Regions from separate parts of the Homo sapiens genome. Here regions 2, 3 and 4 are each linked to region 1. The links are contacts of gene promoters, found by promoter capture Hi-C in blood cells and fetal thymus (Javierre and others, 2016). All regions are on one chromosome and are shown on one strand. The core of a region is centred on a gene start or on the middle of the fragment in contact, and the rest is flanking DNA. Distances in the headings are between cores, read along the strand shown. Region 1 holds the start of RASAL2-AS1 (RASAL2 antisense RNA 1). Region 2 overlaps RASAL2 (RAS protein activator like 2). Region 3 overlaps RASAL2 (RAS protein activator like 2). Region 4 overlaps RASAL2 (RAS protein activator like 2).

Region 1 (7,441 bases), core at 3,441-5,940:
TTTCTTGTGCTGATTATATTTCCCTTCTAACTCTCCAAGAGCATATCTGAGCACATACTTGCAGACCTGTCATACTGATGAGTGCAGAGCTCCACCGCAGGCAATCCTAGAGATTGGGATCTTAAATTTCTCCCAGAGTGTCCTACACTCCCCATCCATTCATGGTAAAGTATTTAATTTTAATGTTCTCATTGTTTACCAGAAAGCACAGACAGTGAGGCTGGCTTTGCCACTCCCGTTTCCTTTCGCTATGCTGCTGAGCTTTTTCAGCCAATTGACTTTGCTTTGAGGCTATAAATATCTGAAAAATGTTCTGCATTTGATGCTCTTGGATTCTGTATCCATATTTAGCTGTTTGTGGCATGCCTTTGTTTAAGCTACTCTACCACCCATACAGTCAGTCAGGTTGAGATCTGGATGGTCAAAGGACAAACGGATCAACATACAACAGACACTGACTTACTATGAGCAAGGTACCAATCTGGCAGACAAGTTGACAATGAAGGGGGTGGCAAGATAAGAATACAAAGATAAACAAGGCTCCCTGATATCAAAAATTTTATAGTCTTGACAAGGCATGGGCACAACTTATAATACTGGAATAAAACAAATGAAACATTTTACAACTACAAGGAAATGAAGATTAGGACAGACAGCACAAATATTTTTCTCTCAGCCACATCTCAAAAATGTGCATTAGTTTGTGTTCTAAATATAGAGCCACCTATTATAAAGCTCTGAACATATTCCAGAAAAGTTTTCCAAATCATGGCAATACACAAAACCCTGAGTATACGTATTATGACAATATATACATATGTACACAATATATATGTATTATCAACCAAGGAGCCAAACCTGTCAACAAGAAACTCAAAACAGTGCCTAGTCTTCAAATTTTGTGAGGCAAACTAATAAAATATTGTTTCTAGAAGTTCCTGTTAAGATATTCTTTGGGGGGTTACTTCTGTTGTTGTTTGTTCCCATCATGATTTCAAACAGAAGTATATTGCAGGAGATGCAAATTGCACTTAATAAAGTTCCTTATTATTATCCTACCTTTAGAACCCACATGGCTATGTAGGTTAGGTCTCAAAACTGGATGAACTAGACCTAAGCAACATCGCCATACTCATCTTCCTATCTTGTGAAAACATTCCAAATAAATAAACATCTGCCTTCAATATATCTTCTTTGAAAACTCAGTTCACTGACCTTTTGATAAAACTGCTCCCCAGAATTCCCTGACAATCATGATTTAAATGCATTAAGTTAAGGGCTTGGTTAATGCCTGGCCCCAAGAGCCAGGATAAAGATTATAGGCCAACCTGCAGGTAAAATAATGGGCCAAGCCACAGAATCAGACAACTTTAAAGCTAAAAGGGACCACAGATACCAATTACTCCAGATTCCACTTTTATGCTGAAACCTAGAGGCCATGAGTTAAAACTACCTGCCCAGAATTAGACAACCAACTTGTGGCAAAGCCAGAATGAAACCAATACTCTAAGCTTCTAGTTGTATCCTCTAGACTAGGTTCCCAATTTGTAGATTTCCCTGAAACATGTTAGACTACACTCATCAAAGTCTCTTTAAATTGTGAGAAGAACCTAGGTGATCCAAGACAACGAAGGTTTTGAACACACAGACAAGAAACAAGAAAAACAAAAATTCTGTATTCTCCAAATTGTTTTTCTACATTCTATTACTTTTATTTCAAAGTTTTTACTTCAAAGTTTTCAAACATACACCCTGTTCATACAATAGGCAACTTAAAACTAGCTAAGGACATAGCCAAGAGTCATTCCAATAGTTCTGAAATATTTACATAAACTAAAGACAACAAAATAGTATCCAGGATGAGCTGCCTCAGAGGAAGGAAAGTAGCAATACTAAACAATAAATAAAAACAACTTCTGGTTAATTGATAGAGAAAACAAAAAAAGTTACAATGCAGTGGTAAGTCTGCAATTGGTCACAAAAATGCAAGGCATGGTATGTATATGTGTGTGTCACACACATATACATACCATGCATTTCTGTGATGTCTGATATGAAGTCTTGACATCAATTGAACCACGCAGAAAGAAAACTTCTAAGTCGTGGTCACTCTTGAACAATAAACATATATCCTGTTCAGAAGGACGAAAGAAAAAAAACATAATGTAAACTTGCTCTCACTCTCTCTCTCTCTTACACACACACACACACACACACAAAATATACAATATATATTTCACAAATCAACCCCTAGGAATGGACTACAAAACAACATACATTTGTAGACTTTTATGTCCTTACAAATGAAGAACGATAGTTAACACTAGGTCCAGAGAACCCAGATTGTTTTGGATACTGAAATACCGAATTATCATATACATGTATTCTTAGAATAGCATGGCCCTATTTCTAACATCACACAAATAAACAGTATGCCAAAGAAGTGTGTAAGGAGAGAAAGATGATAGAATGGGAAAACGTTGTAACTACAATATACTCTAATTCATATGCACTTTCAGATTCTCACCAACCTTTGTTCTAAATGACCAGCTAAGTGGGATTTAGCAGGCAGACGGAAAATCAGGCACCAAAGTTTTTAATCTAATTTGCTGAGAACAAACTGGGTGACCTTGCATCGTCTCCCACTCCTTTGCTTTAAATCTTCCGGTACGTAGAGTAACATCAAGAAACAGCCAGCAAAATACAAAGTGGTACACAAATCCTTAAGAACTGGTTATAAGAAGAATTCCTGGATTTTTATGATTAAAAGGGTCACTAGTGATGATTTAATCCAATCCACTCACTTTACAGATGAGGAATCACAAGCCAAAAATGTGACTCGATCTGCCCCAAATCCCATAGCCATTTAGTGGTAGAACTGAGACAAGAACTGAGATCTCTGGACTCCTAGTTCTATGATCTTTGCGATGGACATTAAGTCTTCAAATCAACTGAACTACACAGAAAAAAACCTAAGTCTTGGTCACTCTTGAATAGTAAGCATATACCCTGTTCAGAAAGATGAAAGAAAAAAACATAAGGTACTTGATCACTACAGGCTTAGATGCACAAGACTGCAGGATAACATCTTAACATTGTGTTTGATCCCAGGTGCTTCAAATTTGCCATCTTATACTCAGCCACGTTACTAATGTCTTCTGCAGTCACGTGAGCTAGGCGATAAACATCTTGCCGTTTCAATATTTTGGAAAGCCACAGCTCAGTCCTGAATGCCAGGCTATAAATCCTTAAGCTATGAGTTTTCAAAACCAGCATGGTTTTAGTGCTGCCACAAGGCTCACCCTAATAGAATCTCATCATTCAGTTTTAATTAAAGAGGTGGTTACCAGGAATGCAGAAAGGGAAAGTTTTAGTGTGTTCATCACTTTTAACCTGCTGAGTGGCAACCCAGTCACTTTACAACGAGATTCAGAAACAATAGTGTAATCTGAAACAATCCACACCCGTTGGAATAAGTGGTTGCTTTTAGAGAGAGTGAGGTTCAGGCAGAGGTTATAGATTAGTCTTGCTCCCACCAAATACATAGTTTGCATTTTTTTCATTCATTAGCTTATCCTCTGCTTTTTCATAATATCTTGGTTTCCAGTCTTGCCTCATTCAACAATAAAAAGAGACGAAAATCCATTCACTTGGTTTCATGGAGTTTTTCCATCATACCTTCTTGAAGATTGATTGCCTGGCTGTTCCCTTGAAGTAATCGCCTAAGAATTACGTCTTGGATAGCCCAACTCCCGCATTAAACTTACTGCAGGTGTCTGAAGAGGTCCAAAGACCATACTGAGTGACATCCCTGCCCAAGTGATAGTCTGAAGAAACTTGTCAGAAATGCACCCCCAGAACAAAAAGGGATGTGGGAAACTGACCTAGCACGGATGAGGACTGGGAATGAGCCTGTGACTTAGGGAATGAATTTCAGCCCAAGCAAAAATAGGAAACACCAGCCTCTAAGACGGCCTGTGGTCCTTACCGTACACCCGGACCCAGCTCTGTTGCTGGCACACGGACTCCAGAAGGATCCGATCCAACATGCCACCGGCGACGGCTCCACTGACTGGGACAACCGCGTCCAGGTCCTCCGGGGGCAGCGGCGAGTCGGACTCCAGCGCCGGGAACATCTCCGGCCAGGACAGCGCCTCCGCGGCTCCTCCGGACGACGGAGAGAGCTCCATGGTGCCCCGAGGCGGGAGGGGGACGAGGCGGCGGCTTCGGGGCGGGCTGGCGCGCGGCTCCGCGCCCTGCCTGCGGTAAGGGGAGGAGGAGAGCGCGCAGCGAGGGCAGGGACCCGAGCGGCAGCCGGCGCGGACACCTCTCACCTCCTTCCCCGTCGCCCACTGCCCGAGGCTCGGGCGATGCAGCCCACCTGCAGTCGGCGGGCGGGACCCAGGCCGGGAGGAGGATCCAGCGTGGCCCCGACCAAGGGTGGGTCCGGGCTCAGGTGTGTGTGGGTCCCTCCCGGGAGAGGACGCAGAAGAACCCGGGAGGGGAGGCTCGCCCTCCCACCTCCTCGGAGCCGCCTTCTTCAGCCCCGCCGGCGTCTCTCGCGGTCAGACCAGGCTCTGGCTGGGGATGGAGCGGGGCCGGGCAGGGCTGGGCTTGGGGGCGTCGCCGCCAGGGGCCGCCCCCTCTGACCGGCTCCCGCCGCCGCCGCCTCAGAAGCTCCGAGTGCCCGTTCCCTCAGCCTGAGGAGGGGTAGGGGGCGGTGGCCCCGGGTTCTAGCCCGCCTGTCCTCGGCCCCCACTTCTGGAATGAGCCTGCCCGCCCCCTGACTCTCAGGCCACAGCTCCGGCCACAGCTCTGGCTCCTGCTCCGCGGCGGATCCCACAAACCCGGCAGCCACGGCGGTGGCGGTGGCGGTGGCGGTGGCGGTGGCGGCGGCGGCGGCGGCGGCAGCGGCAGGCGGCATCCCAGGGTGATAGGCTGAAGCAATCGAGGGCCGAGAGCCCGGCCGCGTGTGCACTCGAGTAACGAAGCCGGGGAGGGACTGCGCCGCAGGCAGGAAAAGTCGGACACCGAATTATTCATCCGGCCTGTCCCGCCTACTTTCCAAGTACCCTCCCAGGGATAGCCGGGTATTGAGCGGTCCGGGTCTCTGCTGCTCAAAGTAAAGACCGTTTGAGAAGGCGGGGAGGTAAAAGGGTGCGGGAAATTTAAACAGAAAAGAAAGGAGCTTCCCTTCCTTCTCACACCTTTCCTATTTATTTGTTTCTTTCTTTCTTTATGGGCCAACGTTTCTTTCTTATTGGACAAAGAGATCGAAGAAGCTGCTTTATCTTACAGTCACCCAAGGGGGAGCGCCTTCTTCCTTCCCAGAGTGGAGTGGCAGTGGGTCCGGGATTCTGGGATATGCACAGGGTCTGCGCCCTGCGCCCTGTCCGCGCTGAAGCTGAACTTGTCATTGGTTTGCAACAGCATGGTGAAGAAGTGTGGTGTGGATGGACGGACGGGCCTCTCAGGCACATGAAATACTCAAAGCCCAGTATTAACCAAACATGTTTCTCTGTTTTGTCTTTGATCTTTGTGCAGTGTGTTGGCTTTTTTCCTTTAATGATGTCACTTGTATTTTATTTTTGGTTTATTTGTAGACTGTCTCCCTCCTTGGCCATGGCTTTACTTTTATGTCCACCCAAGGAGAGTTTCACCAGTTTAGGTTTAAGAAATTACTGACAAGTTAACAATAATAATTTCAAAATTGAACAGTAATAACTTAAACCGTGCCTTGGACATAGTAGATCTCCAACAGTTTTTCTTGAATGTGGCTACCTAATGTGGAACAAGATTTTTCATAATTACATGTTGCTATTTTTAATACCTTTTGGGAGGTTCTTTAGTCCCCCCCGCCCTTTCTCCCTACGTTGCACAAAGAGACTGGTCTACAAGGGGTCCTGTTAGTTTTCTGGTTTTGTGGGGTCCTGGAATATTGTTTGGGCTTATTGAGAGTTAACAAGGATGTATTTTGTGAGTTTCTCCAAAGTCTTATTTAGAGTAATAGTATTTCAAAGCAAGAAGTGTTTTAGAGAGAACATCATTCTGCCTCTTGTTTAACAGGTGAGGAAACTGAGGAAAAACCAGCTTACCTGGCTAATCAACCACAAGTACAGATAGTTCCACAATGACTCAATGGATATTACTTCAACTTTGTTCCCTCAAGAAACTTTTGTGATTAAGCTTGTTGATTTGTGGCTTGATGGTTTACAGGAATGGTCATTTTTAATATCTAGGACCCTGCTTGCTTGCTTGCTTGCTTGCTTACTAGACTGGCTGCATAGTCAGTCTTCCACGTGTAAACAACAGTGTGTGCTTTAGTGGATAAGAGATGTTGAGTGCTGAGATTTCAAGGCTCAGCACTGAGTAGACCTAGAGCATTTTTATTTATACTAAATTAATGCCATGGTAACATAAGTTAGACAGCAAGTGAATATGGCATCAAATGTACAAAGTTGAGTATCTCTTTACTAGTCAATGTATAAGGAATTTATTTACCCAAGCAATTATCTTAAAAACAGCATTACAAGTGGTATGCGAAACATTTCCAGAATTTATTTCCACATCTGCTCTTTCAGTGGCATCATCCATTCCTGAGCTCAAGAAAAGGCCTCTGCCAACCGCCAGTAATCCTGCTTTTTTAGTAATCCTACTATTTTTTTTTTAACTTTAAGTTCTGGGATACATGTGCAGAACATGCAGGTTTGTTACATAGGTATACATGTGCCTATGTATACCTATGTAACATGGTGGTTACAGTAAACATGGTGGTTTACTGCATCTATCAACCCGTCATCTAGGTTTTAAGCCCTGCATTCATTAGATATTTGTCCTAATGCTCTCCCTCCCCTTTCCCCCACGCCCCGACAGGCCCCAGTATGTGATATTACCCTCCCTGTGTCCATGTGTTCTCATCGTTCAACTCCCACTTATAAGTGAGAATATGCAGAGTTTGGTTTTCTGTTGTGTTACTTTGCTTAGAATGATGGCTCCCAGCTTCATCCATGTCCCTGCAAATGACATGAACTCATTCTTTTTTATGGCTGCATAGTATTCCATGGTGTATATGTGCCACATTGTCTTTATCCAGTCTATCATCGATGGCATTTGGGTTGGTTCCAAGTCTTTGCTATTGTAAATAGCACTGCAATAAACATACATGTGCATGTGTCTTTATAGTAGAATGATTTATAATCCTTTGGGTATATACCCAGTAATGGGATTGCTGGGTCAAATGGTATTTTGGTTCTAGATCCTTGAGGAATCGCCACAGTGTCTTCCACAATGGTTGAACTAATTTACACTCCCACCAACAGTGTAAAAGCATTCCTATTTCTCCATAGCCTTGGCAGAATCTGTTGTTTCCTGACTTTTTAATAATCACCATTCTCACTGGCGTGAGGTGGTATCTCACTGTGGTTTTGATTTGCATTTCTCT
Region 2 (7,523 bases), core at 3,864-6,363, 140 kb before region 1:
TGTTGATAAAAATAAACTGTGATGTCACATATGAATACTGTAATACCTATAGCAACCACTAAGAAAACTACCCAAAGAGATACACTCAAAAATACTATAAATAAATCAAGAAACAAACCTGAGGGTGAAATAAAGCAGTTCTCCATCCTTGTGCTCTGACCAGTGCTCCCTGCATGAGCAAAAAATTGAATTGAAGAGAGAGCTAGAGGTAAACACCACCATAGCAAGAGAAGACAGAGCCTTCAGATTGAAAAAGCTTTCCAGACTAAGCAACAGCCATGGCCTCTGCATACACTTCTTTGCATGCATATATGTACGTATTTGTGGAAGGGGGAGAATTAATCTGTACTATTATTTCCTGCATTTAACAGCCAAATGAAGAGTAAGTTTGTCCAAGATAATATACTGATAAGTTGGTATGTCATCTGCACACCTTTGCACACCCTTCTGAGTGCAATACTTTGGTCATCCATTTCTGAGAGAGGAAGGTGAAGTATTATGTAAATGTTATTTAATCCTGATGCTCATGATCAAGGCTCAATGTATTCTAGTTAAATTAAAGATGGATAGAGATATCAGATCAGTGGAGGATTCAAGTTTGATTCTCAGACTGACTCTCCATTTCCAAATCCACAGCTGCCTTAAAAGATGAGAAAAGAGCTTACCCATGGAAATTTAATATGTACCCCTAAAGTATTTCTCCTCACACATAAAGTGAACTTATTACTTTCTCCACAATATACTAGCAACACACGTGAAAGAGATTGAAAATTACAAAGAACCAAAAGAAACATATAGTACTTTTGTAGCTTATTTCCTAACACAGCTTGGAGATCTTTCCATATCTGTATATAAACAGCTCTTCATTCTTTCATTCTTTCATACAGTGACTCAACATTCTGTGTACTTATCTCAAGTATATGAATCACATCAATAATACTCATTTAGGGTATTTAAGTTGTAATTATATAGCACACCAGAAAGAAGCATAAATGTCAAAACCTAAATATTCAAGTGTATTCATAAATTCATCCTATTTTAAAATTTTATTTATAAATCATTTTCCTCAAAATTCCACCTCATACTTTATATTCTGCACTCTTATTTAAAAACCACACTGGTCAATTAGAACAATGTGACAGTAGGATACACCAGAGGGCTTATGTTTCTAATCAATAAAAAAGTCATGAATAAAAATAAAAATATGTATAAATAAAATAATTATAATAGAAATAAAAAGGAACCTTAAAAACTAACAAAATCTTCCAATAATTTTCCTAAAAAACATTATAATAAAATAATTCTCCAAAGTAAAATGTGAAGTGAAGGATATTGATTTGCAGTCACACAATTTTGTTCAGGGAAAAATACCACAAAAAGTTGTTAATAATTAGCTTAATAACTTTATTTTAATAACTAGTATATAGTTACAATTATAATGTAAATTTTGTTTAAAAGACTAAAAAGTTTATTTTCATAAATTTTCATTTAAGATAAATTCCCAATATCCTCTCCAGCAACACATGTATACATTATTTACTATGAAAATTTGACACTTGCTTTAAATAATTTAAAGTGGTCTTTTTTCAATGCCATTTGCTTTTGGATAAAACATCCCTTTATATTCTTGTATTTAAAATAAAGTCTAAGGCTAAGAAAAAAAAACTGGATAAAAATAAGAAAATGGACCTATTGTGTTTAAATGAATGTTCTTTATTGGTAAAGAAATACAATAAACACTAACATCTGAAGTGATAGGGTTTACAGGAAAGTATTAAGTTCCTTTTGGCTAAACAAAATGATACATCTAGAATTCTATGAACAGGAAAGCATTATTCAAAGAAATACTGTCTACATCTAGGGACTAATAACAATATCTGCGGTATCACTAACAGTCCAATAAATTGAAATAATAGGCTAGAGAGGATTAGTAAGCCAGCAACTCCATAATTTCCACTAGCAACTGACCTTGTTCACTGTGGACAACATATGTTCATAAAACACTGTGCTTGAAAAGCAATGCCCTAATGTTACATCACAGGGCAAAAAGTAATTACAAAAGTTTATATTAAAGACAAAATAATCAAGTATAAAAATCTGTGTAAAGGCAAATATTTTATGTTTTATTATAGGCTAAGGGATAGCAAGGCACCACAATGTTAAAAAATTTATAAAATAAAAATTTTAAATAAAAATACCATTCATCTGTTTTTAATAAGCTAGGAAAATACCTTTATTACCTTATTTCAGGGGCAGAACACCTCCATCCAGCTCAAGCTTTAAGAACCATGGTTTAGGATGCCATCAAGAGGATAGAGGTAAATAAAACTTAAATACTAGAGTATCAGTGCCTAACGTGTCCACATATTAGAATCATCACACAATCTTAAACGTATTCCTTACTCTTAGATTCTGGCATGTACTACTGTGATATATGGATGGTGTCCATGAGGTAGTGTCCTCAAAAGTCCCTTGGATAGAGAGTAATGTCTAACCACTTTGAACTAAAAATGTTTATTATAAGTTGCTTAAAATACCACACTACTACTTGGAAACAGTAATCATGCCTTTCTCAAAGAAAGATTTATTAAATAATAGAATCACTAAGTACCAGTGACAACTATCATTATTTTACACATATTGTGAGTGATTTATTGCATATTATTCTGCCAGTTGTATAACATCTTCACTAGTATTTACAATATATCTACAGTATGTAAACCATTGCACTAAACATACAACAGGCATGGACTCTGACTTTCCTTTTAAAAAAGCTTGGATCTGGGAAGAAAACCCACAAATGCTGACAGTAACTCTTATGTTCTAACCACCAGATACCACTTTACTTCAGAACAACAAACCACACACATAGCTTTCAAAATACTCTTTAGTTTGACCAAGGTTATGGTTATATACTATGCTAAATTATATGAATCAATATCCCTTAAGATTCAAACTATTTTGACATTTTGGTGACAAAATCTAAAAACATAGATAGAATAGGGTTTCTACTTTGTAAAGGTGAATAAGTAATCATCCTTAAATCCAGAAATTAGAGGCAAAATTTTTTTAAGACATTTCAATGAAAATTCCACATGAGAATGACAGGAAAAATACCTGTGGTTAACTGACTCAAGCTCAGTCACTAAGAACCTGTGTACTCATAAGGATACGGTTTCATAATCATAGATCCAGAGTCATTACTCATCTTACTCTTCTCTTTGCTTCCTCACAAAGACAAACTGGCCTTGAGTGTGAGAAACCAAATAAAAACTTGCCTGAGGCAGATAAATCATTCCAGGATGACAATCATCCTGGAAATGCAGACAAATCATACTGTTCATTGTAATCAAGCTACCAGTTGAAAACTCTAGATCACATTGAACTATATTTATATTTTGAGCAGAGGTGTGGGAAATTACTAACTACAGAAGGTATTTGACTAAGACTAAAATTTTATTTACATATATATATAGTGATTGCTAATAGGTACTTGAGGTGATCAAAGTGTGTGTGTGTGTGTGTATATACACACATACACACAGAAATATTTTACTGAATGAATACACGGATATAAAACAATAATAAAGTAGCAGCACCATTACATGTTCAGATAACAAATGGAAAATTTAATGTGACTTAAGGTCACAAAACACCAAATCATTATTCTGGAGGCAGAATACACTGTTTGCAAAATACAAGGGTAAATGCCCAGGCGAAATGAAAACATATGTTCACGTAAAAATTTGTTCATGAATGTTCATAGTAGCATAATTAATAATAGCACAAATGTGGAAACAACCCAAATGTCCACCAAATGATGAATGTATAAATGAAATATAGTATATCCATACAATAGAAAGTCAGTGATAAAAAGAAAGTACTGCTGCTATAACATGGAGGAGCCATGAAACCATTATGCTAAGTAAAAGAAGCTAGACACAAAATGTCACATATTGTAAAATTCCATTTATATAGCATCTATAAGCAAATCTATAGAGACAGTATATTACTGATTGCCTAGGTCTGATGGATGGGACCTTTAAGGGTAAACAGGAATTGCCTGCTAATAGGTATTTGGTGTAATGAAAATGTTCTAAAATTGTGGTGTGCTTGTACAGCTTTGTAAAAATACTAAAAATAAACTGTACAAAAGAATATTATGATTCCACTTATATGAGGTACTTGGGAATCGAATTCATAGAGACAGAAAGTAGAATGGTGGTTACCAGGGCCTAGGGTGAGGCAAGAATGGGGAGTTAGTGTTTAATGGGTACAGAGTTTCAGTATGTGAAGATAAAATAGTCTGGAGATGGATGATGGTGATGGTTGAACAACAATGTGAAGCTACTTATGCCACTGAACTGTACACCTAAAAATGGTTAAAGTGGTAAATTTTTTGGTATGTGCATGCTATCACAATAAAAAAGTAATTGAATTGTGTGTATTAAGTAGATGAAATACGTTATGTAAGTTATATCTCAAAAAAGCTGTTAAACAAAAATAAATAAGGTGTGTATGCAAGTATATGTAAAAGTAAGAATATTAAAGTTACCACCACATTGGTAAACTCCAAGTCTATACTCGTAAACCACTGGCTCTGTTAACAGACACTGGTTAGACTGGAATAAGATGTCCAGATGTGTTGAGGCTGGGATGCTAGTCTCAACATTCTCATTACTCTCCCACTATATCCCTAGCCTGTGTGATTTCACCCACTCCTGTGGCTTCAATGTCCATGGGCTGATGGCTTCCAAATGTATATCCTCATATGGGAACTAACCTCTGCTGCTAAACTCCTGCCCCTTTATTCCGCAATACTGCTTGAAGCGATGCTCTCAAGTTCCTGAAAAACTCTCAAACATCATGTGTTCAAAGTGGGCCCCCAAATGGAGGAGCACAGAATCATAAGAGACCTAGGACCCACAACTTACTAGCTGTGTAGTCTTGGAGAAGTAACTGAAACTTTCTGAGGCTCTAATTCCTTACTTTTAAAATGAGAATAACACTCCCTCGCAGGATTATTCGGAGGATTAAACCAGATAAAATGCATTTAAAGTACTCAGGGAGGCTGGGCGCGCTGGCTCACACCTGTAATTCCAGCATTTTCGGAGGCTGAGGCGGGTGGATCACCTGAGATCAGAAGTTCGAGACCAGCCTGACCAACATGGCGAAACCCCATCTCTACTAAAAATACAAAAATTAGCTGGGCTTGGTGCTGTGCACCCGTAATCCCAGCTACTCAGGAGGCTGAGGCAGGAGAACCACTTGAACCCGGGAGGCGGAGGTTGCAGTGAGCCGAGATCGCACCACTGGCCTCCAGCCTGGGTGACAGAGCAAGACTCTGTTTCAAAAAAAAAAAAAAAAAAAAAAAAAGTAGTGTCCAATATAAAATATCACAGATTAAGTTTTGCTCATAAGTAAAAGCTAGAGAAGCCTAGTGTTTTGTGCAAGTTATACCCTAAAGTTTTAAACAGTGAAATAAACTACCAATCATAATGCTTAAAGCAAACCCTTTCTGTTTTTTGTTTTCCTTTGTTTTTTAAGACTTCCTTGGAAAACAATGAGCAACTGAAAACCAAGGAATTACTAATCTTTATAGGCTTGAGAAGCAAAGAAATGACCCAGTTGCCACATGGATAAAAAATAACACTTGGTTGACTAGTAAAAATTTGGGGTGATTATTAGACATTCTACAGGTTTTTAGTGGCTAGTCTAAGCTCTTAAAATCCAGAATCTCTGATTTTTGGAAACCAAGTGTAACTGCAAATTCTAAAGCTGAGAGACAGGTACATGGTTATTACAGTATCATACCTCTACGAGGACCATCATAGTATATACTTATGAAGAGATAAATTCTATTATAGGTTGGGGTAGCTTAGCCCTCAAGATTATTAGGCATAATCTAAAAAACCAACAACTTTATAGCTGATGTAACAATTAGCTACCATGACCACACTGGGTCAGATCCTTTGCACCTAATATCTGAACAAAAGAGACTATCTTCTGGTTATCTGAAGGTTTGGTAATCAATAGCTTTCCAATTCCAGTATCTGGAAAATGAGCATTAAAAAAATACTGGTAGGCAGGAGAAAGTAGGATAACAACTAGATAATCTTTTTTGGAAAATTATTTCCAAATAATTTGGATTTTAAATAAATAAATTGCCTCAGAAACTTTATTCATTAGGATACTAGCTCTCGCCTATAAATTCACTTAATTTGCTAACTCAGTGAATTCAACTTTAATTACTTTCTCTTAGATAAGAAAATCAAACTAGTCAGTTATTTGGTAGTCTTTTGCTTGTGGGAAATAAGGGATGAAGAAAGGCTCACAACTGCAAAAGGTTAGAAAACCACTGATGTAGACACTAGGCCAGAAAGAAGTTACTGCCAAAAGAGAAAAGGAGACCTCTGCACAGGCACTTGATCCGGTCTTTATAATAAACAGTACATTTCAGTCTTAAGAGCTTAATCCCCCCTCACTTGCACATACATACCCATACACACACACAGACACACACACACACACACGCACACGAAGCACTTAGGAGATAGCGGAGTAACTGTTTTATAAATGTTGTTATGTTACTGGTAGGACACTATGCACTGTTTTTTCGTTACTGGAATCGAAATTCCTTGAAATAGCACCTTAAACTTAAACTCTGTATGTGCTTCCATATACATATTATTACATTTTATATTTCCTTAAGTAGACCATATATGTGTAAAATGCAGGGACACCTTCTCACAGCACCTCACACATTGTAGACAGTCAAAAATAGCTTGGTATACTTGCTAAAAACTGAAAGTGCACTATCAAAGTCCAAAAATGATTATAAATGCAAAAATTTAAAGTATTGCTTCTTTTATCAAATGCACACATGCTAACCATTGAGAGGAACTGATTGTAAGATTTTAAACTCTTAATTTCCTTTGACATTCTTTTACTTTGATCACCTTATGATCACCTGGCAAGGAAACAGACATACAAGTATCCAAGAAACTGAAACAACCAAGTCTTTCAAAAATTTTAATGGAATGTTAATAGAGGCACATCAAGGAGGAAGATTTTCCTCTAGGTAATTATCTATTTGCCAAGAGTAAGGAGAAAATATATATGTTTAAGAGTATCACTAAAATTCACTGAGCAAAGGAACATCTAGGGAGGACAGGGTTTATAGAAAATACTTAATTTTTGGCATACATTAATTTGGAAAATTACTTCAGTTTTCACTGAAATGATCTCATTAGCATTCTTCAACTTTATTTTAAAATAAATTAAATTATATTTCAATAACAAAATTCTTCAACAATTCTCACAGTTTTAGAAAGGGTTTAAACCTTTGATGATACGTTCAATCTCCTAATAATGAGAGGCTGAAATTTTCTTAATGGTAAGAGCTTCTCAAAAAATGATCTCAGCTGGTCATGAAGATACTACCAAGCTTCCAGTGCTAAGGTTTTTTAAAAAACATAGGCCCCAAGTCATAACCAAAATTGTTCACCAGATAAGGTCAACCA
Region 3 (7,499 bases), core at 4,789-7,288, 230 kb before region 1:
CAGATACATTAGCTTGGAATATAATTTCAGTTTAGACATCATGTTCACTTGGAATGATATTTAGACATCACGTTCACTTGGAATTTTAAGGGCACTGCTCCAGCGTCTCAGCCTCTAATATTACTATCAAGAAGTCAGATGCTGCTCTCATTCAAATCCTTTAGAGAGTATTTTTTGTTTCTGCTTTAAATCCCTGAAAACTTTTAGAAGGGTCTCTCCCATTGTGGATGTTCTGAAATTTCCTGAAGATGTGCCTTCAAGGGGGTTGTATTTATTTACAATGCTGAGCACTTCACAGGCCTATTAAATTGGAAATTCACAGGCCTATTAAACTGGAAATTCAAGGAACTCAAATGTCAGTTCTGGGACATTTTCTTTCAGATCTTCACCAAATGTTCCTTAATCAGTGAGGTCTTCTCTGATGATCTCATATAAAAGTAACATTCCTTTGCTTCCTTCTCCACCCACAGCACTCCCTACATCTTTTACCTTACCTTTTTTCTCCATTGCATTTATCACCATGCGGTATATTGTAAAGGTGTTTGCTTTGCCAGTCTAGTCCCACCAGAATGTAAGTTCCCTGAAGGCAGAGGCTTTTAACTGTACTGCCGGCTATTTTTGAATGCTTTGTTCAACAGGCCAGAACAGTGTGTGGCACATAATAGGAATTAAAAAATATATATTTGAGGAATGAAAGGCTGTACTCCCTAGGTTAGGCAATTTGCTAAGTCAATCACTCTGCGGGGCTCTGAATCAGGGAACAAATATAGCTGGGGAGAGGAAGAGAAGAGAGACAAGGTCTCACAGCTGCCTGTTAGTATTTATAAGTCACTCATAACCCGAAATACCCTACTGGTAATTGTGATTTGTATAAAGCAGTAGGAAAATACCATGGTAAGGTGGATTTAAAGTCATACAGACCTGGGTTTGAATTCTGGTTCTGCCACTTATTTGGCATCAGTACTCTTCTCTATAAAATAAGGGTACTAATAATACTTGTTTCACAGGACTACTGCCAGGAATAAATGAGATAATATATATCCAGAACTTAACATTGTCACTGTTTTGTCATCATTATGTCTACCTAGTTACATCACTTATTGTTTCTTTACATTTATAACTATTCTTTATTTTTATTCTAAAAACATAAAGAGATGAATTTGAGATGGCAATTGGTGATACTAAGAAATAAGAATTACAGAATAAGTAAGATCTAATATTTGATAGCACAACAAAGTAACTACAGTCAGCAACAATTTGTTGTACCTTTTAGAATAACGATTGGAATATTCATAATACAAAGAAATGATTAATGCTTGAGGTGATAGATACCACTTACCCTGATGTGATTATTACACATTATATGCCTGTATCAAAATATCTCATGTACCCCATAAATATATACACCTACTATGTACCCATACAAATTAAAAATAAAAAAAATTTAAAAAGAAATAGGAATAAGAGACTCACAATTAAAAAGAGCAGATTCATGGTACTGTACACCAAAAACGTGATAGGAGATGAGATAGTCTGTATAGCAGAAAAAATAACCAGATGTATCATTTCCCTAGTGCTACCATAAGAAATTACCACAAACAGAGTAACTTAAAAAACAAAGGAAATTTATGCTCTCATAATTTTCTGGAAGTCAGAAGTCCAAAATCAAGGCATAGGCAGAGCCACCCTTCCTTGGAAGTCTGCAGGGGAGAAGACCTGCTTGCCTCTTCCTATTTCTGGTGGCTCCTGGCATTCCCTGGCTTGTGTCTGCTTTACTCCAATCATTGTCTCTGTCTTCACAAGGCCTTCTCCTCCATGTCTATGTCTTCCCTTTTTCTGTCTCTTATGAGGAAATTTGTCATTGGATTAGGACCCACCTAGATATCCAGGATGTTCTTATCTTGAGATTTTTAATTATACCTACAAAGACCTTTTCTCTAAATAAGGTCATTCTTGGGACTGGCCATTTCTATACTGTTTTTCTAGGTACAAGAACTAACAAGGTTGTCTTTCTGCCAATTATGCTTTCTGATTCAACAATGAACTGTGGCTGGGCACAGTGGCTCATGTCTGTAATCCCAGAACTTTGGAAGGCTGATGCAGGTAGATTGCTTGAGCCCAGGAATTTGAGACTAGCCTGGGTAATGTGGAGAAATACTGTCTCTATTAAAAAAACACAAAAAATTATTAGCTAGGTGTGATGGTATGTGCCTGTAGTCCCAGCTACTCAGGAGGCTGAAGTGGGAGGATTGCTTGAACTCAAGAGGTTGAGGCTGCAGTGAGCCAAGATCATGCCACTGCACTCCAGCCTGGGTGACAGAGTAAGACCCTTTCTCGAAATATAAATAAATAAAATAAAAATAAAATAAACTGTATTTTATTAATTATATTCTCCCTGGTAAATTAATAATTTTCTGTTATCTAAGATTCTAATTTAAAAATACTTTATAGCCTGAAGAATGTTACTTATAATCTAAATGAATATTAGGAAATACTATAGTTTTAAAAAGCTACTTAAGAGGACCTCCATGGGAGCAACTAAATTTGTATATACACACATACTGAAATGTTTTAAGAGTTTGATGATTTTAAATTTCATTCAAAATAGAAAAGAAATGCTAAGTTAGAATGAGATTGTTCTATTTACCTGGACAATATTACTATATGAAACTTGTCCTTTATTAAGAGCCTTTCAATATTTATATTGTAGCATGGTTTAAACCATAGGGATAATGCTATTTTTGATTGTCTCCAGAAAGAACGAATCATCACTTAAAACGTGATAAAAAGTCGGTAAGAGAAGATAACATAGGTAAAATGGGAGAAAAAGGGGGTTATAGAAAGGAAAACAAAATTGGCCAGGAGTGGTGGCTCACCCCTGTAATCCCAGCACTTTGGGAGGCCGAGGCGGGCAGATCACCTGAGGTCGGGAGTTCGAGACCAGCCTGACCAACATGGAGAAACCCCATCTCTACTAAAAATACAAAATTAGCCGGGCATGGTGGCACATGCCTGTAATCCCAGCTACTTGGGAGGCTGAGGCAGGAGAATTGCCTGAACTTTGGAGGCGGAGGTTGTGGTGAGCCGAGATTGTGCCATTGCACTCCAGCCTGGGCAACAAGAGTGAAACTCCATCTCAAAAATAAATAAAATAAAATAAAAAATTAATTAGATATTTTCTGAGACATAAACTTTTAGTACAATAATCAATTCTGAAATAGCAGAGCATTATTATAAATAAAATGTAAATAGTATACAATAAATTTTGAAAGACACATACATACTAAAAGGTGACTTCTTAGAGTCTAAAAACATTTCTTTTGAAAATCCACTTATTATTCTCACTTATGAGGGATAATTATGAGGGAGGTAGATTTCTGCTAATGAAATTTTGAACCTATTCTCTTATTCCCTGATGGGAACTGATACCATATACCTTTGATATATGATTCATTCTTTCTAATGTGGAAAACATATAATCCAGCCTTTTACATGGGTACATGAGATTCTGCAAAATTAATTTTTCTTGGGAAAGTTAAAAAAAATTCTTATTTATTTATTAATTCATTTCTTTATTTTTAGAGGCAGGGTCTTGCTCGCTCTGTCACCCAGGCTGGAGTGCAGTAGCATAATCGTAGCTAGTGTAGACTATATAGTCATAGCTATATGTAGAATCAAACTCCTGGGCTCAAGTGATCCTCCCACCTCTGCCTCCCAAGTAGCTGGGACTACAGGCACACACCAACATGCCTGGCTAGTTTTTTTATTTTTTGTAAAGATGGGGTCTCATTATGTTGCCCAGGCTGGTCTCAAACACCTGACCTCAAGCAATCTTTCTGTTAAAGTGCTAGGATTACAGTCATGAGCCATGGTACCCAGCTAATTTTAACTTATCAACTGCAGTAACACATTTAGTTATAAAAGCTCATCTTTTACTGTAACTCTATACTGTATCAGTGATGCCAAGCCTTATTAGAAGAGGCCAAATTTTCTCTTTTCTCATATTCTGCATACAGTTTCTTTCAGGGAGCCTATCTACCACTATGAAACTTTCTAGCTTTTAGTGGCTACTCCAAGGCTATTTCTATCCAACTGTTATATGCACTGCTAATGATATTCTGCTTTTAAATGTATTTTTTTCTCTTCTTATTTTAAGTCACACCCAATGTATTATCTCATTAGCTCTATCCCTAGCTCATCTAGTTCCTAATACATATATCTGAATGAATACTTCTCTACAATTCCTACCTTTAAAAATTAATTACAAAAGATTTGTTTAAATAAGTTTTTGACTCTTCGGTGGCACTACTCTGATTAAAGTGGGAGGGAAAAAACCTAAAGGCCTTTAAGAGGAAAAAATGAACTGATAATTATCTTTCCTCTATTACTAGTTCTCTTTCTAATTCACTCGCTTTTACTTCCTTCTCATCCTGTGAATTCATGTTCTAGACACTATTTTCTACCTTGAATTTTTCCTATGTTATTCTCTACTCTTCAGAGTTAGAAAGAACACGTCAAACACAGACAAAATAGGAATGTTGTAAGGAGAATTTTTTTAAAAAATGAAATGAATGGAAGCTTCCTGTTGTGCTATATTAAATATCAATCAAAATGAGGAAACATGTTAACATGCAAATATCTGAAGACAACAGGAAAAGAAAATAGGCTTTAAATTTTACAGAAATAAAAGTAACCAGAACAATCCAATGAACACAACAGCTTTATGAGAAACTAGGGAGCTTTCTTGGTTAAGCATTGTTACTAGAGAGACCAGTTGGCAGGTGGGTGCCAAGGGGGTCATAACAAGCCAAAAACTTCATTCCTTGAGGCAGTTAGAGTCTGTTTCGCACATAAAATTAAACTAGATTTTCCACCAATCTGATTTATAAATCCTTCTGCTTGAAATGTAAACTTAAAAGGCTTTGGTAAACAGCATAGCCAATCTTGGGCTACCTAAAAAGAGAGCCATATGCACATGTACAATTAAACGATATTTAGCTAATTTTGCTCAATTTATCTGAATTACTTATTTTTCCTTTCAGAAAAGGTTCTGGGCAGTCAAGGGCCTAGGTCAAGTCTCCAAATATATTTCAAGATGCATTGTAAACAAGCCCACTCCCATCTTTCTACCTTCATTACATAACAGACTGGTGAATTATGACTATACTTTAGAAGAAAGGAAGTGCAAGTGAAAATGGAAAAAAACAAATGGGCAAAGTCACAAGATACAGAGATAGAATGCTTTAAGATGTCACACCTCAAATTTCTTTTCTTTTTTTTTTTTTCCTAGAGATCGAGTCTTGCTCTGTCACCCAGGCTGGAGTGCAGTGGTGTGATCTGCAGCCTCAAAATCCTGGACCAAAGCAATCCTCCCACCTTAGCCTCCCAAGTAGTTGGGATTACAGAAGTGAGCTACTATGACCAGCTTCAAATTTCTTTAATAGCTTAAACCTGTCCAAGCAAGATGAGAAACATAACACCTAGTCTATTATCTCACTGGTTCCATGATTTTATGAGTCAGAGCGAACTGAAGTTTGGCTCAAATCAAAGTTTATGTTATTGCTCCTGCATTCTTCTTTTGAATCATAATAAAAATCTCATCCAACAAGGAAGCTGAGGTTCAGAGTTAATGATGAGAGCATATGGAATTTGAATCCAGGTTAAGACAACTTCAAAGCTGGTGCCATTTTCCACTACCCAGCACAGTCACTGGTAAAGGTATCCTTCCAGACAGAATGTGTTCTAGTTACGGGTATGCATTTTCTTTCCTGAAAAAGTAAACCCTCTATCTGTGAAATAACTGCTAAATCTTCTTGTGTGGTTTTTATATACTAATTAATCTCTTAACAACCTAATACATGTTTTTGTTATAAATAACCTAATATTCATTTTGTGAAATGCAGCAAAAAGGATAAAATGGTCATTTCCTTTCATTAAGATACTTCATTTTCTCTTATCATTCTCTATAAATATAAGAAATTAATAAAAGTGATTTACTATTAATAAAATCTTAAAAATAAACACAAATATCTTGCTCACTAACACAACTATGGTTATGATATTAACCAACAGCACGGAGTTCAGACCTGACATTCACAACCAAGTACACTTGATACTGTGACTTGTTAACTTGGACAATGGCATTTACCAACTTTGTATTTATCAAAACCAATAGTTGTGATTATACTGCTTATAGTCCTGTGGCTGTGCAATGATATTTAGTAATTCTCTAATTTCATTACTAAACGATTTTCTCTCAAGTGGGTATGGTTTTCCCTTCAGGATAAAAAAAAATTACCCACATCTAAGATTATTTTTCACTTTGACATGCTCCACCTGAAAGTCAAGAAAGAGTTTCTCTAGTATGTCTCATATCAGTCATTTGCTCAACAATCAGTCACTCACTCAGCCTGCAGTTATGTACAAAACAACCTGCTATGGTGATACCAAGGTGAGTAAGATACAATCTTGCCATCTAAGAGGTTCCAATCTAGTAAAGATGACACATACCAACAACTTACTGAAAACATAAGAACATACATCCAAATATCAGAAGTACAAAAAGTACTGTTTATCACAAACAAAAATGCTAATGAATTCTGATTAGTGAATGAAGAAAAAGATTGCCAAGAGTTAATATCTTATTGGTCCCTTAGGATAAATGGGATTTCTACATACAGAAGGTAGAAATGAAGGTGGAAAAACAGAGCAAGATATTCCAGGTTTATGCCCTATGTGAACAAAAGCCCATGTGTATTGAGAATGCCTAGGGAATCTGAAGCAGTCCTATGTGGCCAGAACCCAGAATACATACCTGTGGTGGGTAAAAAGAAAAAAGATGATCTTAAAGAGCTAACTCTCAGTCAGAATATATAGGACGTTTAGTGTCACTGTAAATTTGAACCTCATCTTATAGATCAGTGGAGATACAGTAAAAGTGTTTAAACAAGGAAAGTAGTATGATTCAATTAGTGCTCTAAGATGACAAAAGAGCAGTGAAATGAGTTAATACAGAAGGATAAAAATGGAAACAGGAAAAGATATATGAGTAGCTATTCAGATATTTAGGTAGAAATAAAAGAGTAATGTAAAGTTAGAATGACTAGAAGGATGGTGGTCATATTAACAGAACCAACCACCACATGAGAACAGGTTGTTGGGGAGGGAAGGAACAAAGAAGGGAAACTAATCAAAGATAATGGCTTCAGTTTTGAACATTCTAGTACAGACGACCAGTTGGGAATTCAGGTCTGGAACTGAGAAGAGACGAGGAAGCCAAAAATAGAGATTTAAAAGGTACTGGCCCAGGGATGACATTTGGAAACATGAATATAGGTGAAGTCAACTACTGAGAAAGGACAAAGCAAAAGAAAAAGGGTAAGGATAAGACCTTTAGACATCTGCATTTAAAAAGTGGGAAATATTTTAAAAAGTACGGTGAGGCAGGACATAAGCAATAGAGGAAAAAATGTCACAGAAGTCAAGAAAGAGAAGCTTTA
Region 4 (6,995 bases), core at 2,905-5,404, 210 kb before region 1:
GTATACAAACATAAAAATTTTAGATAGCTAGCTTTGACTCTAAAAGACTTTTGATACACTCTTCTCTAAGGCTTGCTAGAATATATCGGAGGCATACTATGTTAAATTATAATTTTAAATGTATTTACCAAATGTTTATAGGTTTTTGAGGACTCTAGGATAATAACACAAATTTACTATCACAGGCACAGTTTTTATAAAAATCCAGACATTCTGTAAGTAAGATGACGGGATAACTTTAATATTTTATTATAATATATTAAAATAGAGGCATGAGATCTCTGCAGCCTTGAGTTAGTAAATGTTTGGATTTGAATTTACCAGTTCAATCTGAACTTTCTGTTTGAGGACTGAGAAAGCCTCGGATTTACGAATGTTTGGCATTTTCTAATTAAACCAGCTTTATGAACATGTTTATGATGTTACATGCAAACAACTATCCTTGCTCATTTCAGGCTCATACTGTAGTTTGCCCATTTGGGCATGAAAACATGAACTTTACCGGAATGTCAAAGAAATACAACAAAAAGATTGGAGACAGCTCCAAATTCACCTTGTGCTATCCACCAGCCAAGCAGTAAGCAATATGCAATAACAGAGATAAATTTTCTTCCATAAATGCACAGTTCATAAAAATGTCCACTCTTCAGCTTTCACTTTTCCCCCTTCTCAGAGTTCTTGCAAGCTATTTGATAGCTTTGGTTTTTTTAAAAGAAGTTGAATTTGTAGGTTACATTGACATTGAAAATGACTATTTACTAATTTTAGTTCACACGGCCAACTAATATGCCTTCCAGTATTATTTGTATACAAAGAACCCTACTACCTCCTCTTGAAAATTCAGCAAGTCATGCTTTGCATGGTTTGAATCTAGATAGTCTTTTGATGAATAAATTAAAATCTGGATACTGTTACTAGGGGAAAATAGTTTTTTCCTAGGTTTTCTAAATCTGGAAGTGGGTACTTTAGACATGATGCACACATGCCTTAAGAAAACATCTCATTTTCAGTGGAAAAAAATTTTTTTTTTAAAAGTAATTAGTATATTTTATTTAAAAATATTTTTAGTATGAAAGAAATGCACATTGCTTAAGAAAATCTAGAACATACAAGCAAAATAAAGATAATGCTCATAATACGTTGATGTGTATAAGCAATCTTTATTCTGTGTGCATACTGTACCTTTTTTTAAAAAATGAAATAATGATTAGACTGCACATGCTGTTATATAACTTGTCTTCTTCGCAATTTATTTAGAACATCTTTTTCGTGCTTTTTTTTTTTCTTTTATTATTATACTTTAAGTTTTAGGGTACATGTGCACATTGTGCAGGTTAGTTACATATGTATACATGTGCCATGCTGCTGCACTGCACCCACTAACTTATCATCTAGCATTAGGTATATCTCCCAATGCTATCCCTCCCCCCTCCCCCCACCCCACAACAGTCCCCAGAGTGTGATGTTCCCCTTCCTGTGTCCATGTGATTTGTTCATCTGACAAAGGGCTAATATCCAGAATCTACAATGAACTCAAACAAATTTACAAGAAGAAAACAAACAACCCCATCAAAAAGTGGGTGAAGGACATGAACAGACACTTCTCAAAAGAAGACACTTACGCAGCCAAAAAACACATGAAAAAATGCTCATCATCACTGGCCATCAGAGAAATGCAAATCAAAACCACAATGAGATACCATCTCACACCAGTTAGAATGGCAATCATTAAAAAGTCAGGAAACAACAGGTGCTGGAGAGGATGTGGAGAAATAGGAACACTTTTACACTATTGGTGGGACTGTAAACTAGTTCAACCATTGTGGAAGTCAGTGTGGCTATTCCTCAGGGATCTAGAACTAGAATTACCATTTGACCCAGCCATCCCATTACTGGGTATATACCCAAAGGACTATAAATCATGCTGCTATAAAGACACATGCATACATATGTTTATTGCGGCACTATTCACAATAGCAAAGACTTGGAACCAACCCAAATGTCCAACAATGATAGACTGGATTAAGAAAATGTGGCACATATACACCATGGAATACTATGCAGCCATAAAAAATGATAAGTTCATGTCCTTTGTAGGGACATGGATGAAATTGGAAATCATCATTCTCAGTAAACTATCGCAAGAACAAAAAACCAAACACCGCATATTCTCACTCAAAGGTGGGAATTGAACAATGAAAAAAATTTGATGAATCAAAATCTATGTCAAATTTAGTATCCTTGGTAACTGTAAACTGCTGAATGCAACAGTCGGAGAACTCTTGTCAATAAGAAGTAAATTCTGTGCTTAAGCACTCCCTTCTTCTTCCCCATACACATTTGTCTCAATTTGCTTATTTGGAAACAAAATTCTGGATTTTCATCTTTCCTCTTTAGTTCTTCCTTTGCTAGTGCTACTTCATCTTCCTAACCTCTAAATGTTGTCCCAGGGCTTAGTCTTTGCATTTCTTCTGTCATACATTCTAATAGGAATGTCATTAAATCTCAGGGTTTTAAATATCATCTATTTGCCAAAGGCTTGCAATTTGTATCTGTAGTCTGTACCTTCCCCTTTATTTCCAAATTCATATATCCAACAAATTTCGACTTGGGGGTCTAATAATACCCTCAAACTTAACGTGTGCAAAAATTGAGCTGCTGGTCAATCACACTTTCAAACTAGTTTCTCCCAGTCTTCCCACTTTAAACAATAGTAACTTCATTCCTGTAGCTGTTCTAGCCAACATTCTTGAATATTCTATTTCTCACTTTCCACATCCAATCCATTAAGCAAATTCTGAGTTCACTGTAGGTGTGTGGATTTGTTTCTGGATTCTCTGTTCCACTGGTCTGTGTGTCTGTTTTTCTGCCTGTGCCGTGCTATTTTGGTTACTATACCTCTGTACTGTAATTTGAACTCAGGTAATGTGATTCCTCTAGTTTTGTTCCTTTTGCTCAGAATGACTTTGGCTATTCAGGGTCTTTTGTGATTCCATATAAATTTTAGTATTGTTTTTTCTATTTCTGTGAAGAATGTCATTGGTATTTTGATAGGAATTGCACTGGATTTGTCGACTGCTTTGTGCAGTATGGACATTATAACAATATTGATTCTTCCAACCCATGAACATGAAATATCTTTCCATTTGTTGCCATCCTCTTCAATTTCTTTCATCAGTATTTTATAGTTTTCATTGTAGCGATACTCACTTCTTTGGTTAATTCCTAGGTACTTCATTTTACTTGTGGCTCTTGTAAATGGGATTACTTTTTAAATTTCTTTTTTTCAGATTGTTCACTGTTAACATACAGAAATGCCACTGATTTTTGTATGCTGATTTGGTATCCTGTAACTTTACTGAATTTGTTTATCAGTCCTAACAGTTTTTTAGTGGAGTCTTTAGGTTTCTCCAAATATAAGATCGTATCATCTGCAAACAAGAATAAGTTGGCTTCTTCCTTTCTAATTTGGATGCCCTTTATTTCCTTCTCTTGTCTGACTGCTCTAGCTAGGACTTCCAGTACTATAACAAATAAGAGTGGTAAAAGTGCACAACCTTGTTGTGTTCCAGATCTAAGAGGAAACGCTTTCAGTTTTTCCACAGGCAAACGTTTAAGAAGAATTGTCTCCATTTGCTGTTTTGATTTCCTTATCACACTATCTTCTCAACTCATTTCAGTAGGGCTTCTGCTGCCACATACCATTAAAACTACAGTTCCTAAACTTACCAAGAACCCTAATGTCACTTAATCTAATGTGTGGTTTTTGTTTTGTTTTGTTTTTGAGACAAGGTCTCACTCTGTCGCCTAAGCTAGAGTGCAGTGGTGTGATCTCAGCTCACGGTAGCCTCAACCTCCCAGGCTCAAGAGATCCTCCCACTTTAGCCTTCAGAGTAGCTGAGACTACAGATGTGTGCCACCATGCCTGGCTAATTTTTTTATTTTGTAGAGATAAGGGTCTCACTATGTTGTCTAGGCTGGTCTCATACTCCTAGACATAAGTGACCCTCCAGCTTCAGCCTCCCAAAGTGCTGGGATTATAGGTGTGAGCCATCACACCTGGCCTAATGATTTTCGTTAGTCCTCATCCTAGTGGCCCTTTTGGTAGCATAAAACAGAGTTGGCTATATAGTTCTTAATCCTCCCTACTGTGTACTTTGTAATAGTATAGACCACTTATGTGACAGTACAATTTAGCTTGTTTTTCTTTGTCTTTTTAAAATTTTCTTTAAGTATAACACACATATGCTCAATGAATTATCACAAAGTGAACACACCTGTGTAATTCCTACCCAAGTCAACAAACAGAACACCACTGGCACTCCAGAATCCACCTTTATATTTCTCCCAATCACTATTCATGCCTCCTCCCCAAAAGTAACCACCATCCTAATAACTAACACCATAGATTAGTTTTAACGGTTTTGGAACTTGATATAAACGGAATCAGACAGGATGTACTAATTTGTGTCTGTTCCTCAGTGAACTCTTCGTTAAAATATCTGTTCAAGCCTCTTGCTCATTTTCTACGAGGAAGCATTTATATATACTAGATAAAAGCCCTTTGTTCATTATAGGTGTTGCAAATATATTATTCTACTCTGTGGTTTGCCTTTTCATTCTCTTAATGATGTACTGATTGACAGAATTCTTAATCTTAATATAGTCCAATGTATCAATTATTTCCATTACAATTTGTGTTTTTTGTATTGTTTAAGACAAACTTGTCCAACCCACGGTCCATGGGCTGCATGCAGCCCAGGATGGTTCTGAATGCAGCCCAACACAAATTCTTAAACTTTCTTAAAACATTATGAGATTTTTGCATGAACCTTTTTTTTTTTTAAGCTCATCAGCTGTCGTTAGTGTTAGTGCATTTTGGGTGTGGTCCAAGACAATTCTTCTTCTGATGTGGCCCAGGAAAGCGAAAAGATTGGACACTCCTGACTTAAGAAATCTTTCTTTATCCAAGATCATGAAAATATCCTACACTATTTCTAGAAGTTTTATTGTATTATCTCTCTTGTTCAGATCTTGGAATTGATATTGTGCATGGTTATAAGGTCACTATCTTATAGGTCAATTCCTCCTCATTCCCACCCCACTCCAAAAAGATATGTTATTGAGCCAGCACCAATGACTAAAAAGACTGTCTTTTCTCTCACTGCCGTGAGGGAAATGTCACACCAAATGTCCTTATATATGGGATAACTTCAAGACTCTCTATTCTATTTCACTATTCTATTTGTTTATTCTTCCACCAACACACTATTATACTTTGTTTTTTTTTGAGATGGAGTGTCGCTCTGTCTCCCAGGCTGGAGTGCAGTGGCTCAATCTTGGCTCACTGCAACCTCCACCTCCTGGGTTCAAGCGATTCTCCTGCCTCAGCCTCCTGAGTAACTGGGACTACAGGCACATGCCACCACACTCGAGACAGGGTTTCACCATATTGACCAGGCTGGTCTTGAACTCCTGACCTCGTGATCTTCCCACCTTGGCCTCCCAAAGTGCTGGGATTATAGGCGTGAACCACTGCGCCCGGCCTATTATACTTTTTAAACAGATCTTAATACTAGTAATTAAGTCTTCTCACCTTGTTTTCTTCTGCTGTGGCTATACTTGGTCTATGGCATTTCGAGATGAATTTTAGAATCAACTTGCCAATTTGTATACGTGTATGTGGTGGTAAGGATGGGGACAGAAATTTTGAAATTCATTGAAATTTTGATCTTAAAGAGAACTGACATTGTATTAAGTCTTCTAAACCATCATCATGGTATTTAGCCCTCCATTTGTTTATTTAAATCTTTTTTTCTTTTATGTTTTAAAGTTCTCTATGTAGAAGTCTTTCACATCTGTTATTAGATCTTTTCCCCTAGGAATTTGTTATCATGATGCTATATTAAACAGGATATTTAATTTTTTTTGTTTCCTGTTTATTGCTAGTATATAGACAATCAATTTTTGTACACTAACTTATATTTTAGTTTCTATGTATATTCATCCTATCTTGCTAACTACATAAAAAAAATGTTCTAAGAGCAGAAATCTTATACTTCTTTTCACTCTTAGCGACTGGCATAGAATGTTACATATACAGCAATTATTCAATGAAATACCTGACAGCAGAAATTTTGGCTAAAGACAAATCACTTGGAGATAACAATAAAAAAACAGAACAATTATCTAATTCAAGATTAGACTGGCATGTAAGGAAGAATGGCTCTAGAAGTAGTGTTTTTCCCTATAATATTTACGAGGATAGCTTTTAGTGCAAATTTAGGACATTTGCTCATGGACTGTCCATGAGTCAGAATGGCTACTGGACTTCTTGTTAAGCACAAAAGATAAGGACTGGCTCTAGACCAGACACTTTTGTCACCTTTAGTTTGTTTTTGGGGCCAGTACCTCGAACACTGTAGATATTTAACAATTTCCTATATAGTTCTCTCTTCTATAACACTGCAATAATTCTTGAGACTATAGTTGTACTTCCTCAAAATCTATTGACTTTTATGGGTCAAAACTTGAAGAGCGAAAGGTTCCTAGAAAATTGGTAAAGACAATAGTCAGGCTGGGCGCAGTGGTTCATGCTTTATTCCTAGCACTTTGGGAGGCTGAGGAGGGCAGATCATCAGTGGTCGGGAGTTTGAGACCAGCCTGGCCAACATGGTGAAACCCTGTCTCTATTAAAAATACAAAAATTAGCCGGGCATGGTGGTGCATGCCTGTAATCCCAGCTACTTGGGAGGCTGAGGCAGGAGAATTGCTTGAACCAAGTAGGTGGAGGCTGCAGTGAGCCAAGATCACGCCATTGCACTCCAGCCTGGGCAACACAGCAAGTCTCTGTCTCAGAAAAAAAAAAAGAGAGACAACAGTCAACATATCATTGCAAATAATGAAAGCAAAGGAACTGAAAGAAGGTGACTCTAAGCCAGTTCAATTTACATAGAACTTGGATGTGAAATATAAATAGGCTATAAAATGGTTAC

Evidence for each region. Contacts are between HindIII fragments. The CHiCAGO score rates a contact against its expected background, and 5 or more counts as called.
Region 2: a contact is called between a fragment that was not itself captured here and the fragment with the promoter of RASAL2-AS1 in region 1, in 4 of 17 cell types (M2 macrophages, M0 macrophages, M1 macrophages and 1 more). The highest score is 8.5, in M2 macrophages.
Region 3: a contact is called between a fragment that was not itself captured here and the fragment with the promoter of RASAL2-AS1 in region 1, in 4 of 17 cell types (M0 macrophages, M2 macrophages, M1 macrophages and 1 more). The highest score is 5.8, in M0 macrophages.
Region 4: a contact is called between a fragment that was not itself captured here and the fragment with the promoter of RASAL2-AS1 in region 1, in 4 of 17 cell types (M2 macrophages, M0 macrophages, M1 macrophages and 1 more). The highest score is 10.8, in M2 macrophages.

What each region holds. Positions count from the first base shown.
Region 1 is chr1:178,091,242-178,098,682 of GRCh38, reverse strand. It overlaps RASAL2-AS1 (RASAL2 antisense RNA 1), which reads left to right and starts at 4,690. Exons shown (of 2, transcript NR_027982.1): 1 at 4,690-5,122; 2 at 5,271-7,175. RASAL2 (RAS protein activator like 2) reads right to left here and starts at 4,579. Exons shown (of 18, transcript NM_170692.4): 1 at 3,989-4,579. The coding sequence starts at 4,190. RefSeq lists silencers at 4,141-4,200, 4,351-4,510, 4,581-4,880, 4,931-4,980 and an enhancer at 4,602-5,103. The HindIII fragment of the contact is 4,675 bases long and covers 1,514-6,188 here.
Region 2 is chr1:178,234,610-178,242,132 of GRCh38, reverse strand. All of the region lies in intron 1 of RASAL2 (RAS protein activator like 2), which reads right to left. Among named protein-coding and RNA genes, the nearest start is that of RASAL2, 140 kb to the right of the region's middle. The HindIII fragment of the contact is 4,673 bases long and covers 2,777-7,449 here.
Region 3 is chr1:178,322,201-178,329,699 of GRCh38, reverse strand. All of the region lies in intron 3 of RASAL2 (RAS protein activator like 2), which reads right to left. It overlaps LOC105371629 (a long non-coding RNA gene), which reads left to right. Exons shown (of 3, transcript XR_922306.3): 3 at 5,291-5,612. Among named protein-coding and RNA genes, the nearest start is that of CLEC20A, 170 kb to the left of the region's middle. The HindIII fragment of the contact is 2,916 bases long and covers 4,581-7,496 here.
Region 4 is chr1:178,301,312-178,308,306 of GRCh38, reverse strand. All of the region lies in intron 3 of RASAL2 (RAS protein activator like 2), which reads right to left. Among named protein-coding and RNA genes, the nearest start is that of CLEC20A, 190 kb to the left of the region's middle. The HindIII fragment of the contact is 8,677 bases long and covers 1-6,995 here.